Linked DNA regions of Homo sapiens: region 2 is linked to region 1. Evidence: promoter capture Hi-C in 16 types of primary human blood cells and fetal thymus (Javierre and others, 2016). All regions are on one chromosome and are shown on one strand. The core of a region is centred on a gene start or on the middle of the fragment in contact, and the rest is flanking DNA. Distances in the headings are between cores, read along the strand shown.

Region 1 (3,410 bases), core at 608-3,107:
TGATTCTCACACCTTCACACTGTTCTACAATACAACTGTCTTTTGAATAACTCTGAGACCTAAACAAAATACAATTTTAAAAGGCCTTAGATACAGGCTAAATCATAAAAATAGTAGGCGGGCACAGTGGTTCTACATGTAATCCCAACACTTTGGGAGGTGGACATGGGTGGATTGCTGGAGCTCAGGAGTTCAAGACCTGCTTGGGCAACATGGCAAAACTCCGTCTCTACATAAAGTATAAAAATTAGCCAGGCGTGGTGGCCCGCACCTATAGTCCCACCTACTTGGGAGGTTGAGGTGGGGGGATCTCTTGAGTTGGAGAGTTTGAGGCTACAGTGAGCCGAGATCGCACCACTGCACCACAGCCTGGGTGACAGAAGGAGACCCTGTCTCAAAAATTAAAAACATTAGGTCGGTGCAAAAGTTATTGTGTTTTACATGGCCAAAAAAAAAGTAACTGCGGTTTTTTTTACGTAAAAACCGCAATTACTTTTGCACCGACCTAATAAAATAAAAAATAAATAAAAGTATTGTGGTATGGACAGTGTAACTATAACATTAACAATACAGTTTGAATTCTAATTCTTTTAAAACAGCCAGCTCTGTGGTCCAACTTTGTTTTCTTATTGAAACTTTATCTTATTCATCTACCAGCAAAAGGGCTGTTTTTGAGGATGAAACAAATTACCAGAGATGACAGCAGTTTGTAAATATATACTATTCTTCAGAAATTTGAGATTACTGTACACACAGATTTAGTATACATAGAGAATTCCACTCATATGCCAAATCTATGCCCCTGTATGCTTTCCACTTATTTATTCACTATTTTAAAATAATCGTACCCAAGTCGTTGTTTCTATTAAACCAGCAATCAAACGAAAGCCTTTGGAGCGATGAGGAGCATCTGTTTGAAAGGGGGAGGTGCCACGCTTGCTGCTTCTCTAAGCTCCCTGGGAAGGGAGAGACAACTCAGAAAACCTACAAACTGTAGCTCCTTCCGGTGCCCGCGTGACCCCCGAGTCCAGGAGCGGGCAGGGGCGCCGCTTGGCTGAGCGCACTGGGCACCCGGTCTGGGTCTGGGCCAGCCCCGCCGCTGCAGCCCGAGGGAGGCGGCGCTGCACTGGCCTCCGCGCGCTCCCAGACCCCACGTGGGGGCGCCCCTGGGTGCCGGTGCGCGGGGAACGTGCTGCGGGGGTGCTGCGCCAGCTGCCACCGTTTCCCGGGACTTCCCTCCTGGAAGATTTCCATGCGCAAGTCGAGGACGTGCTCCTGCTAGGAGTCTAGAAACTCTAGGCCAGCCCGGACCCTCCCGGGGCCTGCACTCCCCGCGGGTGGAAGCACGCGCCGCGTGTCCCTGCCGGATTCCAGAACTTCCCCGAAGGTCCTCAGCCCCGGCAGACCCTCTCCCTCGAAGTTCCCCCGCCACCCCCTGCAAGCCCCCAGGCCCCGGGGACCGCCGCTCACCTAGCCAGCGGCTCCAGACACCGGACACCGGACACCGGACACCGGACACCCGCCGCGGCCGCTCTCGCCGCCCAACCCCGCACCTGAGCCCGCCCCGGGCGCCGCGAAGGGGTGGAGGCGGGGGTGAGGCTTCCGCCCGCCCGCTCTGGCCCCTGCGCCTCCCATGCACCCATGCAACCTCCGAGGAAATTCCCTTCCCCCTACTCCCACCCCACGCACACTCTCCCCAAAGCCTCGCCCCACCCCCAGCACCTACCAGTGCTGGGCGCCCCTGGGCAGGGTGGCTCGATCACCCGCCACATCCACTTGGCCGCCAGAAGCCGTCGGGGAAGGGAGGGAGGGAAAGGCAGAGGCGTCCCAAGCGGCGCAGGCGGGCTGAGCAAATACTCCGGCCCGGACGCAAAACAGCTCTTGTAGCCGTCCCGCCCGCGCCGCCCCGCCGCGCCCACATGCCGGGGTGACTGGCGGGGCGCAATCGCGGCCCCACCCGGGCGCCTGGAGGCTCTCCAGGGCCACTCGTCGGCGAGGCTGCGTGGCCTGCGCATCTCGGGCCGCCTGGCCCGCGCGCTGTCCCCGAGCTGCGGTAGTCCGGGGTAGGCTTGTCCTCTCCTCTCTTAGTTCATGAGACAGGGATCTGCAGTCTGTGATCTCTTGGGGACTGCAGGACTTAGATTAAATCTGCAGATCTGGGCCTTTCCACGTTTCAGAGCTCGGGGTTCCTTGCTAGGTGTAGGGTAGGAGGGTGCGCAGGCCCCACTTGTTCACTCTGCTTGGGTGCTGCAGGCCAAGGCGACTCTGGAGCTTTTTTTTTTTTTCTTTTGTTGACATTAAGTAAATGATCAAACTCTTTGGCACTTGTCGGTACACGTGTGGCTTTGTAGGACAAGATGAAGGAAGGAAAAGGCTGGAAGGAAGGAGACCGCAGTCAACACAGACAGGTGGAGAAAATGAAAGAAAACTGGGGGAAAAGTTAAGATGCTGAAAGGAGTCTTGAGGATTGCAACAAGAACAGGTTGGCTTGGTGCCTGAAGACGTCAGGGAGGAGCTGGCAGTCCACAGTTAGAGGAAATCTTGGAGGAAAATTGAGCAGAAGCACAGTGGAAAGGCATTTCCACTGGAGGGCATTTTCCATCCTAGAGGAGCATGTGGAAGAAAACCGCCTGCTTTGGTGAACCCCAGATTTTGTGTATTGGGAGAGATGTAATAAACAGTAAACACCAGTAGTCCTCTCCACGGACTACCTGACCTCTTTAGGAGCCTGACCTGCTGGATTCAAACACAAAATGGCATTTCCCTGCCTCTCCAAACTGCAGAAGCTGTGCAGAGTTACATCAAGCCTCGGGGCAGGCGGCATTGTCAGGAAATAAGACCCAGCTATTTAGGAACAATTCCAGGAATCCCATCAGGGAGGAATTTCTGGTGTAAGGCTTAGTTCCTACTGCAGTTTAAATGATAGCATATGGGGTGCTTTAGGCTGGAGTGGGATTGGCCCCTGGAAAGCTGCTATGACGAGGTCAGAATGAATCCTAGCCCTGCATGGATGCATCAGTTGAACCATACAGGGTGGTTTATCAGTTAGGAAAAATCCCACAGGACACTGTGACAGCCTACCTTCCTCACACCCAGTCTCTCTCCAGGTCCTGGCAAGTCCTTCCTTATAACAGCTTTATCACTGTGCTACTAACCTCTGTACCTCACTTTCCTCCTCTAGATAAAGAGTGTCTGCCTCGGTAAGTTGTCAAGAGGGTTAAATGAGATGCTACATGCAAAGAGATTAGAAGAGCTCTTGGCATGTGGTGAGTGTTCAAACACATTCACTCAGATCAGTTCATATCACATTAAGGTACTGGAATTCCACATTCCTGCCATCTCACCCTAGGCTGTGGGTTCTGCCCACCATGCCACCTACCTTCCAAGTCATTCCCAGGGATCCTATCCTC
Region 2 (3,327 bases), core at 77-2,576, 270 kb after region 1:
AGAGAGTGACATTTATCCTAGGGCATGAATCCTTAATGGTGGAATTTTATCATCTGACTAGAGGATATTTTATAATAAATGAGCATCTTGTGGCCTCTCCAAGGCAAGGATTCTGAATCCTTTACTTGCGGTGAAATCTATACAATGCATTACTGTACCCTGGAGGCCACAGGGAGGCCACATGAAGGCTGTCCCAGGGCACAGAGAACTGCAGAGTTAGAGAGGGACCTCCAGGCTTGCAAATCAGGAGTGCGTTTTATCATCAGCAAATCAACAGCTGAGTGGCACTGAATTTCTCTGCCGAGGCTCTTAAGCACCTAGTTTAGTTTCTGCTTCCTGCAAAGAGATTTATGTCCCTGTGTAGCAGAGGAATAAGAGGCCTGCTGGCAACGAGCCCCGGAGAGGGAGTGGGATATGCAGAGGATACACTGATAAATGTAATTGCTGGAAGCTGTTGGTCCCAGGGCTGCCAGCCCTAAGATTTAACCCCTAACTCTCCAGGTAGTATATGGTACAACCCACTCTTGATGAGAGACAAGTGTTCACCTGAGATGCAAACTTGAGAATTTTGCTGCTGTCACTACCCAGTTTAAGGCCTTTTTTTCACTGCAGGACAAACTATTTCACTTGCCAAGGCTTGAGTGATGTAAGCTTCATTATTAACTACTGTTCAGCAGTGTCGACAGTATTTCTTTGAAATTTCTTTTGTCAGCTTTAACAAAACCTCATCAGATCTTACTGAAAGGATTGGCATCTGGAGCTTTATTTGGTAATCCAACATTGCATCAACTCAGAAGACAAAGGAGCTTGAGCTTGTCTTGGAAACTCAAGGCAAAGTTATACTTGGGCATTTCAAAAGGCAGAAAGAAATGGTAAGGAATACAGTGCCAAGATTGAGTAAGAATAGGCATGGCCCTTTGTTGAGCCTGACCTCAGCCAGATGCATGATGCTGGGAACTTAACTCATTTGTTGAATGAATAAGTGATGGCCCAATAAAGGAAATCGGTTGCTGCTAAAATGATGAAAAGGTCAGAAGTATAAGATCTAGTTACCGGCCAGGCACGGTGGCTCAGCCTGTAATCCCAACACTTTGGGAGGCTGAGGCGGGCAGATCACGAGGTCAGGAGTTCGAGACTATCCTGGCCAATATGGTGAAACCCCGTCTCTACTAAAAATACAAAAATTACCCAGGTGTGGTGGCACGTGCCTGTAGTCCCAGCTACTCTGGAGGCTGAGGCAGAAGAATCGCTTGAACCTGGGAGGTAGAGGTTGCAGTGAGCCGAGATCAGGCCACAGCACTCTGGCCTGGGCAACAGAGTGAGACTCCATCTCAAAACACCACCAACAACAAAAGATCTAGTTACTTCACCCTTGTTCTATACAATGTTTTCTTGTTTCTTATTGTGTAATCCCTATAAGAGTTTGCTTCCCCAAACTTAACTTGAAATTAATTTCAACCATCCTTGGTAATCATCTTTTAGGGGCAGAGGATAAGGGATGATGGTTATAGCCAGAAAGGAGATTTAAAAGAAATGACTTGAGAATCTAGTGATGATTAGACGTAATGCAAGCCCTGAATTCAACTGGGAATAAAAACACTTACCTGACAGGTTATTGTGAGGATTTAATGAGAATGTTTATAAAGCATCTAGTGGAATGCTAGGACCTAGGAGGTGACCCACAAATGTTAACAGCATCTTCTCCACCCTCCCAACACTAGCTGGTTTTTGGCTAAATCAGATGGCTGGATTCTTTTCCTTCCTTCCATTTCTAGGATTTCCTTCCCCTTTAAATGGAGAAGGTGTTCCTGAAGTAAGGGATAATTACTTACTATCATTCTGTAAAGAGATCTAATCTTTGCCAGAGCAAAGAATTTCCTAATCACTTGGGTAAACTTCTGTAGAATCGGTCCTAGAAACCAGCTACTGAGCACTGCCGCTTTCAAGAGATCTGTGCTGTTGCTTAGAAATGCTTATTGTTTGTCCAGGAAAGAAGCTTGGCTGTGTTCAAGGGCGGCTGGCTACTGTCAGTCTCACCTCCCTTAACACTTTTGTTAAATTCAAAATGAGAGATATATGAGAGGGATATACAGGTCCCTTGTCAACTTTTTCTATTGTCTTGTGAATCTCTTGGTTTCATATCATATTCTCCTTAAAATTTTCCCTTTACTGACTGTAAGAAATAAAGTCCAAACATTCAAAGCTTTCACAATTCGGATATTACTTTTTTACTTTTCTTTTTCTTTTTCTTTCTTTCTGGGTTTTTGTTTTTTTGTTTTTGATGGAGTCTTGCTCCGTCACCCTGGCTGAAGTGCAATGGCATGATTTTGGTTCACTGCAACCTCTGCCTCCGGGGTTCAAGCAATTCTCCTGCCTTAGCCTCCCAAGTAGCTGGGACTACTGGTGTGCACCACCACACTCAGCTAATTTTTGTATTTTTAGTATAGACAGGGTTTCACGATGTTGGACTGGCTGGTCTTGAACTCCTGACCTCAGGTGATCCATCCACCTTGGCCTCCCAAAGTGCTGGGATTACAGGCATGATCCGCCATGCCCAGCCTGGACATTACTTTTCTTAAAAGTCTCATCTCCATCCCACCTTGGAACATGCTTAAGCCTTCACATTTTTCTATACAATCTTTCCCGTCTCTCCACCAAACTCCTATTCATCCTTGAAGAATCTCTTCTGTAAGGCTTTATGGTACCACTGAGCAAAGTTCTCATAGCACTTCCATAGTTCTTTCAATCTCACAGTACATTTGTGTTTTAATTATATTTGTATGTCGTTGTTCTCATTAGACAGCAAACTCCTAGAAACAATTACCTGGCGTTAAAAGTCTTAGTGACAAGATTAAGGACTATGGAATGACTTACAGTGAAAAAGAACAAAAGATACTTTACATTCATTTAATATCTGTAGTAGATGCTTTCTAGGATATAATTGATATAATATTATTTAATCTATTCAACAATCATGTAGGGATTAACACATTTACAGATTAGTCAATGGGCTTAAAGATAGAGTGATTTATTTAGACTAATTAAGGAAGAGCCTAGAATTGAATCCTATCTGACGCTCCAAAGCTCAGGCTCTTGCATTACACCAGGCTGGCTCAGGAAAGGGCAATTATATAATCAAAGGTACAGGCTGGCATTAGTAAATAGCGTGGATTGAGGAGAAAAAGCAGCTAGGAGACCGGAGCAGTAATTCAATAGTAAGGCAATGAGGGCCTAAATAAGATTAATAAATAGAGAACAATCAATGAAAGTGATAAATATTGATAAGCAGGAGCCAAATGGAAAGGTCCTGAAAACGAAAAGCAGATT

The links. The method cuts DNA at HindIII sites, captures the fragments that hold promoters and counts their contacts. A CHiCAGO score of 5 or more calls a contact.
Region 2: a fragment that was not itself captured here is called in contact with the fragment with the promoter of SH2D4A in region 1 in 1 of 17 cell types (M1 macrophages); the score reaches 6.0 in M1 macrophages.

Annotation. Positions count from the first base shown.
Region 1 is chr8:19,312,140-19,315,549 of GRCh38, reverse strand. SH2D4A (SH2 domain containing 4A) reads right to left here and starts at 1,857. Exons shown (of 10, transcript NM_022071.4): 1 at 1,727-1,857. The HindIII fragment of the contact is 8,347 bases long and covers 1-3,410 here.
Region 2 is chr8:19,044,136-19,047,462 of GRCh38, reverse strand. It overlaps a transcript of PSD3 not described here. Among named protein-coding and RNA genes, the nearest start is that of PSD3, 32 kb to the right of the region's middle. The HindIII fragment of the contact is 1,345 bases long and covers 654-1,998 here.